Regions from separate parts of the Homo sapiens genome. Here regions 1 and 2 are each linked to region 3. The links are contacts of gene promoters, found by promoter capture Hi-C in blood cells and fetal thymus (Javierre and others, 2016). All regions are on one chromosome and are shown on one strand. Each heading gives the region's core, a stretch centred on a gene start or on the middle of the fragment in contact. The rest is flanking DNA. Distances are from core to core; before and after follow the strand shown.

Region 1 (2,700 bases), core at 29-2,528, 540 kb after region 3:
CAGAACTTTTAAAGATTTGGAAAATTGTCACCCTGGCCATGTTTTAAACAATGAAAAAGTGTGTTTGGGAGAGAGCACCAAGGGTATGGCTAAATGAATGTTCACATGTTATAAGGAGATTGGTATGGATGGGCAGAAGCCAGGTGCTGTTCACCAAGACAAGGAAAGAATAACCCTGAAGTCATTTTGGAGACCACTGGGCCTGCTACTCTCATCACAAGCTTCAGTAAATGAATATCTTATGTGCAGGAGGAGAGCACTGATGGGCTGACTGGAGGGCATATTGTGTAGCATGCTATGGAACCAGGTCTAGTGGCATGGAGTGCTAAGTACGGGGGAATACAGTGGCTTCAGGTCTGAGGCAGGGGCACAGTGTCTCGTCATTTCAGGCAGCTCTCTGTGTTATTGTTAGCTACATAGTCATTGGTGGCAAGAATTGTGGGAGGTCCTTGGTAGCTGTGAGGGCTGTTTGGACTCTTATCTGTGCTTATGGATCTGGCACTGGGGCTTCAGCCCTGAAATCTGCATGTGTGCGCTTGCAGGGTCTGATTGCAGCAGTGTGCACACTGGTGGAAGCTGAACCTGGTGGCAGGGCCCTGGGGTGGTAGTGGACATGTGTGGGGTGGCTGCCCTGGTTCCCAGGGCTGGGTTGCCCATGGTGATGCTTACTAAGGTAGCTTAGGCAAGTGAAGTCTGAGAAGGTGAAAAACTGGTAGGCCCTTGTTAGTAAAAGCTGTTGGGGGTCTGCAGTGGCTTGGCTGGCTATTGGTTTCCTCAGTGGTGAAAGCTTCTTGAGTCCTCTGCAAAGCAGGCCTCTGGGGTTCATGATTATGAACACTTGAGGTCCTCAGTGCTCACAACTGTGGGGCATCTGCAGTGACCCCAAGGGCTGTTGAGTTGAGTTTCTCCATGTTGAAAGGTGTTAGAGTCTTTTGCTGAGAAGGCCACAACCTGCCATGTGGTTGATGCCAATAGGCCACACACTTCTTTGTTCCTAGCTGTTTCCAGGTGACTCAGCTATGCGGGTCTCCCCATTGATCTGGGTGGAGTATAACTGCAGCAGAACCCTAAAAGGATGGAGAAACTGGTGCTTACCTTAATCTTTTCTCTTGTGAAGGGAACTCGGGTCAGGGAGTTTCCTTGTATTGCTAAGCACCGTTGGCTTCATTCAGGAAAAATGAGACTGTTTTTACCATCTTTGGGCAGTTATTTTTGGGCTTTTGCTCTACTGTGTTGCTGCAGCTCCTTAACTCCTGAGCTCTTTTAGAGCTATTTTCGTTTGTGGATAATAGTTTTTTGTGGGTGGAGGAAGGCTGGTATCTCCTACTTTGCCTTCTCACTGACGTTCTTTCTGATCAATTGTGTTTTAGCTTAAGTGATTTGAGTTTAATTTTTCATCACCCGCAACTGAAATGTTTTAACCAGAAGGGCAGTGCAGTCTTCAGGTTACATTTTCTTTTCTATTACTTTTGTTCATTTTGATGGGTATCAGTGAGTTGGTTTCTTTTTTTTTTTTTGGTGGTGGTGGTGGGTGTGGGATGCATTTGTTTTGTCGGTTTCCCTAGAAGTTGGTTTATCTTGCATTCATAATTCAGTCTCTACAAATTTGAATTTACTCATTTGTTATTTATTCTAGGCTATATAAGACACGGTTTGACATTAGAAGATATGTGTTTGAAATCTGTTTTCTTAATTACTAGCTCTTTGACTAACACAACTCATTTAATTTCTCTGAGCCATAGTTTACCCAGAAATGCAATGAAGCTTGGGTTTTTTGTTTTTGTTTTTGGCACTCATTGATGTATCTAGGGTGTTAGATACACTGGCTGCCAGCTGTTTTAGCTCCAAGCCAGGCATATATGAGGCAAAATGAAAATCCAGGGAACTCACCCGTATCACTCCTTGGTCCTGAGGATCCTGAGGTCCCTATGCAGGTCTTCTTTCTTCTCATCACTTTTCAGTCTTTTCAGGTTATTTTTTATATGTAATGTCCAGTTTTTTGTTGTACTTAGGAGGAAAAACAGGGAAAACTACATCTGTTTCATCTTCATGGACACAGAAGTCCTGAGCTCATTTTTAATAAACATGAAATTAAATAATTTTAGAGGTGCAAGGCATCTTCATCTTCAAGGCAAGTTTATATGGTCCAGTGATGGTTAGTTTTATGTGTCCACTTGAGTGAGCCACTGGGTGCCCAAATATTTGTTTAAAAATTATTCTGAGTATTTCTCTAAGTATTTTGCAGGAGATTAACATTTTTATTGATCGAGTAAAGCAGATTGTCTGCCATAATATGGGTGGGCTTTATCCAGTCAGTTGAAGGCTTGAATAGAACATAAAGACCGACCCTCCCCTGAGTAAGAGAAGAATTCTCCAGCAGACTGCCTTTGGACTTCATCTGTGCCACTGACTCCTGGGTGACCTTTGGACTTTTTTTTTTTTTTTTGATATGGAGTCTCGCTGTCACCCAGGCTGAGTGCAGTGGCACAATCTTGGCTCACTGCAGTCTTCGCCTCTCAGGTTCAAGTGATTGTCCTGCCTTAGCCTCCCGAGTAGCTGGGATTGCAGGCATGTGCCACCATGCCTGGCTAATTTTTGTATTTTTAGTAGAGATGGAGTTTCACCATGTTGGCCAGGCTGGTCTCGAACTGCTGACCTCAAGTGATCTGCCCGCCTTGGCCTCCCAAAGTGCTGGGTTTA
Region 2 (2,700 bases), core at 139-2,638, 530 kb after region 3:
TTCTAAGGAAATTATTCAAGCTTTCTACTTCTATTTAGATCAGTTTTTAATAACTTTTATATTTCTCTAGGGAATTATCTCTTTTCTCTAAGTTAGCAGATTGGTTGCCATATACTTATATACAGTCTTAAATAATTATTTTAATTACTCAGGAATGCATTTTTTTCTTGTTTTTAATCATACACACACAGACATAGACACACACACATACACAAACGTTTTTTACACAAACAGATTCAAAAGGGGTTTCTCTATTTTATAGAACTTTTAAAATATAAGCTTTTAGGTTGTTTATATTGGCTATTATAGTTTATTTTTATTTCATTACGTTGAACTTTTTTCTCGACCAATTTTATATTTCATCTTTTTGGGCTTATTTTCTTCTATTATTCTTCTGATTTTATAAGATTTTTACTAAGAGTACTTCTGTAGACTGAATTGTGTTCCCTGTCCCTCCCCCGACCCCATGCATATATTGGAGCCCTAACTTCCAATATAATGGTATTTGGAGATGGGACCTTTGGGAGGTGATTAGATTATGAAGGCAGAGCCCTCATGATGGGATTAGTACCTTTAGAAGAAGAGACATGAGAGATACTTCCTTTTTGCTCTCTGTCTCTCTCCGTCTCTCTTTGTCTCTCTCTCTCTCTTTCTCTGTCTCTCTCTGCATGTGAGGACACAGCAAGAAGACTTCCATTTGCAAGCCAGGAAGAGAGCTCTCACCAGGACCGTGACCATGCAGGTGCTCTGATTCAGACTTCCCAGCTTCTAGAACTGTGAGAAATGAATGTTACAACAGCCTAAGCTGACTAAAACAAGTACTAAATTTCTTTATTAAGATTTCTGAGTTCTGCTAGGCTTGGTGGCTTGTACCTATAACTCCAGCTACTTGTGAGGCTGAGGTGGGAGGATCACTTGAGCCCAGGAGTTTGAGGTTACAGTGAGCTATGATTGTGCCACTGCACTCCAGCCTGGGTGCCAGAGAGAGACCCTGTCTCCAAAAAAAAAAATCACTTTCTTTTTTGAACAAAAGGGGCGAGATGGATGCAATATTTCCGCTAGTATAACTGTCACTGTATCCCATTATTTTGGGTTAAAGTGTTCTTTTATCAGTAACATTGATATAAGTTGTTTTGATTTCTTTCTACCCATGGATTATCAATGAATTCTTTTTTTTAAAATTTCAATAGCTTTTGGGGTACAAGTGGTTTTTGGTTACATGGATGAATTCTGTAGTGGTGAATTCTGAGATTTTAGTGCACCCGTCACCTGAGCAGTGTACACTGTACCGAATATTTAGTGTTTTACTCCTCACCTCCCTCCTTCCACCCAGAGTCCCCAAAATTTATTATGTACATCTTTGCATCCTCATAGCTTAGCTCCCACTTATAAGTGAGAACATAACGGAATTTGGTTTTCCATTCCTGGGTTACTTCACTTAGAATAATGGCCTCCAGTTCCATCCAAGTTGCTGCAAAATGAACTTAGTTTGTTCATTTTTATGGCTGAGTAGTATTCCGTGGTATATATATACTACATTTTCTTTGTCCACTCATTGGTTGATGGGCACTTAGATTGGTTCCACGTCTTTGCAGTTGTGAATCGTGCTGCTATAAACATGCCTGCGCATGTGTCTTTTTTTTCTTTTTAAATTGAAATGAGGTCCCACTGTGTTGTCCAGGCTGGCCTTGAACTCCAGGGCTCAAGTGATCCTCTCCCTACCTCGGCTTCCCAAAGTGCTGGGGTTACAGGCATGAGGCATCACACTTTGTTTATGTGTTTTTTTCATATAATGACTTATTTTCCTTTGGGTAAATACCCAGTAGTGGGATTGCTTGACTGAACGGTAGATCTACTTTTAGTTCTTTTTTTTTTTGAGATGGAGTCTTGCTTTGTCACCCAGGCTGGAGTGCAGTGGCACAATCTCGGCTCACTGCCAGCTCCGCCTCCCGGGTTCACACCATTCTCCTGCCTCAGCCTCCTGAGTAGCTGGGACTACAGGTACCCGCCACTGCGCCCGGCTAATTTTTTGTATTTTTAGTAGAGACAGGGTTTCACCATGTTAGCCAGGATGGTCTCGATTTCCTGACCTTGTGATCCACCCGCCTCGGCCTCCCAAAGTGCTGGAATTACAGGCATGAGCCACCGTGCCTGGCCTACTTTTAGTTCTTTAAGGAATCTCCATACTATCAATGAGTTCTTAATTCTTAAGTGTTTTAACACTTTTCATCATTATTTTACTTTTATTTCTGATTTTTGGAATCGTGATAAAAGAGCATTAGCCACGCTATTTTGAATAAGTTTATGATTTCTGTGTGAATAGGTACCTGGTAGATTTTTGTTCATGTTCTATTACTATAAAAATGTACATTCTCTATTTAGGGATGTAAACATTCATACTATTGCTTTTAAGTTTGTTAATTGTATTTTTCTTTATGTTTTTATTTTTTGGTATACTTGGACTGTTTGATACTGTAAAAGGATTATGAAAAGCTTTAGTGCTTATGTATTTTTAACGATGTTATCCCTGCATTCCCAGTAGTTTTTGTGTTATCTGCTCTGTTGTTGGGTGCATACAAGCCATACACTTAGTGAAGAATAACAATGGAACCCTGACTTCTGAGGTTTTAAACTTAAATTCTTTATAGTTTTTATTCCCTTTGACCAAAATGCAGACATTGTTTTTAGATGAGACTAAAA
Region 3 (2,700 bases), core at 37-2,536:
AAATACATGCCCATGCAGAGATAACCAGACAGCTATGGGTATAAAATACTTGGCTATTCATCAACACTGAAAGCATTTTCTGAAAGGCAGCATAAGAAGCCACTTTATCAATACAGATATGAAAGTACATAGGAATTAATTGACAGAATTCCAGTTTGTAACGTTTAATATATAACTCAAATAATTCATGCATTAGGGCCTTTCCAGGTATAAGGTACTACCAGTGGAGAATCAAAGGTGCATAATGTCAAGATCCCTGCACTTGGAGGTTACAGAGGTCACCCACTGGTGAGAAACTAATGTAAAATCTCACTGCACAGCATCTATGTTGGTATGAATGGTTTGTTTTAATTTTTTGTACTTTAAAAAATGGGGCTATTTCACATAACAATTTTCCATTTTGCCGCTCCTGAAATACAGGCAACTTTCCCACTGGCCGGTCCACTTCGGAATTCTCTGCTCTCCAGTTCCTCAGATGTGCCCATCCTACTCCCATTTTCTTTCTCCATCATACGCCTGACCCCTGTGCGCATTTGAGCTTACAACCTCTGCCAAGACTCCAGTGGATTTCGAGAACAGATTGTGACTTGCTAAGCATACAAACTCCAACGGGGAAGGGCTCTTATCAGACGCCCTCTTTAAAGAAGGTCCTCTCACGAACTTAAAATCTTACGACAGAGGGAAACAAACACTGAACGACCGAATGACTTTTCAGGAGCTGACATCTCTGCGCTTCAGGGGGCGAATTCCAGCCCCCGCCCCTCGCGGCTTTTCAGTCCTTTAAAAGACTAGGCAAAGATCTAAGAGAGTTAATTGCAGGAAGAGTAACAATCGATGCCCACAGATAAGGGTCAGGGAGAACTTTCACCCAGTTTTGCAATCAGCAGCCCAGCCTGGCCTCTCCTCTCAGGCAGGACCTTGGGAAGCCCACACCGGGGTGCTGGGGAGAAGCGGGCTGTACCTGCTTGAGAGACCAGGTGTTTCCGGCTCTTTCCTCCTCAAGAGATGCGGTGCCTCAAGAATAACCATTCCCCTCCCCACCACCTCAGCGGGGTGACCTCAGCTGCGGCTGCGCGCGTATGCCGGCCCGAAAAGAGCAGCCAGCTGCGCCTCAGCAAGGGGCGCGGCCTCCAACCTTCGCATGCTCACCTGCCCCCGCGCCGGTGACCAGTACCACCCGCCCGTCGAACCTCAGCGGTGAGCCCATGAATAAGGCCTGCAACGACACACACACGAACAAGCAGAGCCGCTGGACGCCGACTGCGGGACAGGAGGAGGCGGGGAATGGCGGGGGCGGGACGAGGGTCAGTGACTTGCCGATTTCTGGTAGGAAGATGAGCGCAGAGCGCGCGGCTCCCTTGGAATCCTGGGAAATGTAGTTAAGAGTGACTCCACTCGCTGGAAGACTTGCCTTCCAGGGGCCATTTCTGCGGCTGGAAGCAATGGGAGCTGCTAGGACTTGTGTAGAAGAATAGTTAACTCGACACCTTGCGTTCATCTATTCACCTGTCGTTTCATCATTCACTCAATAAACGTTTTCTGGGTTTAGTTGCTGACCTAGAGAAACAGCATGCGGCCCCTATCCTTGAGGGGCTTCCAGAGATAGCCCCTGGGAAGGAAAGTCCCCCTTAGGGATGGTAAAGATTTGTCAGTGTAATAATCCCTGCACTTCTACATGCAAACATCAGGGGACTGTCAAAATGCAGAGTCCTGGACCCCCACTGCTTACCTCCCAAAATAGAATCTCAAGGGGCAAAAACATTTTGACAAGTGTTCCTAAATGATCTTGCGTTTGTATGTTGAGAACAGTCATAGTTCAATCAACATTTACTGAGCATCTCCTGAGTTTTGATAGGATCCTCAAGCTACTCAGAGTCAGATGGTAAACTTTCAATAACGGTGCAGCCTAGACTTGTGACCAATGTGTGTAAGTGAGCTAATGGTGTCAAAATAAACAGACCCTATCCCCGCTGGGGAGAAAGAGGAAAAACTTTCTGAAGGAGGACCAGGACCTAAAGTGGCGACCCCTGCAAAGAAAGAAGGGCATTACAGGCAGCACAAACACTAGCTAGGTTTGGGGAGAAAGAGGGTAAAGCCACAAAAGCAAAGCCAGCAAGATCATGTTTAGATGTTTGAATTTTGTGCTGAAAACGGTTTTAAGTAGGATTACTCCAGAGAGTGGTGGGAACACATTTACACTATGGAAAGATCACTTTGCCCATTATGGAGGATTGATTGGATGTTGCGGGAAGTCATGGACCCCAAACAGAGGGACCTGCTAGAGCCGCAGCAGAGGAACATAAATTGTGAAGATTTCACGGACATTTATCAGTTCCCAAATAATACTTTTATAATTTCTTATGCCTGTCTTTACTTTAATCTCTTAATCCTGTTATCTTCGTAAGCTGAAGGTGTACGTCACCTCAGGACCACTGTGATAATTGTGTTAACTGTACAAATTGATTGTAAAACATGTGTGTTTGAACAATATGAAATCAGTGCACCTTGAAAAAGAACAGAATAACAGCAATTTTTAGGGAACAAGGGAAGTCAACCATATGGGCTGACTGCCTGCGGGGTTGGGCAAAAACAGCCATATTTTTCTTCTTGCAGAGAGCCTATAAACGGACGTGCAAGTAGGGAAGATATCACTAAATTCTTTTCCTAGCAAGGAATATTAATATTAATACCCTGGTAAAG

Evidence for each region. The method cuts DNA at HindIII sites, captures the fragments that hold promoters and counts their contacts. A CHiCAGO score of 5 or more calls a contact.
Region 1: a contact is called between a fragment that was not itself captured here and the fragment with the promoter of HSD17B4 in region 3, in 2 of 17 cell types (activated CD4 T cells and erythroblasts). The highest score is 6.2, in activated CD4 T cells.
Region 2: a contact is called between a fragment that was not itself captured here and the fragment with the promoter of HSD17B4 in region 3, in 1 of 17 cell types (non-activated CD4 T cells). The highest score is 7.2, in non-activated CD4 T cells.

The regions. Positions count from the first base shown.
Region 1 is chr5:118,907,474-118,910,173 of GRCh38, reverse strand. The region is part of intron 4 of DTWD2 (DTW motif tRNA-uridine aminocarboxypropyltransferase 2); the gene reads left to right. Among named protein-coding and RNA genes, the nearest start is that of MIR1244-2, 66 kb to the left of the region's middle. The HindIII fragment of the contact is 977 bases long and covers 790-1,766 here.
Region 2 is chr5:118,925,021-118,927,720 of GRCh38, reverse strand. The region is part of intron 4 of DTWD2 (DTW motif tRNA-uridine aminocarboxypropyltransferase 2); the gene reads left to right. Among named protein-coding and RNA genes, the nearest start is that of MIR1244-2, 48 kb to the left of the region's middle. The HindIII fragment of the contact is 2,214 bases long and covers 282-2,495 here.
Region 3 is chr5:119,451,083-119,453,782 of GRCh38, reverse strand. It overlaps HSD17B4 (hydroxysteroid 17-beta dehydrogenase 4), which reads right to left and starts at 1,286. Exons shown (of 24, transcript NM_000414.4): 1 at 1,150-1,286. The coding sequence starts at 1,207. RefSeq lists an enhancer at 1,136-1,185. The HindIII fragment of the contact is 7,394 bases long and covers 1-2,700 here.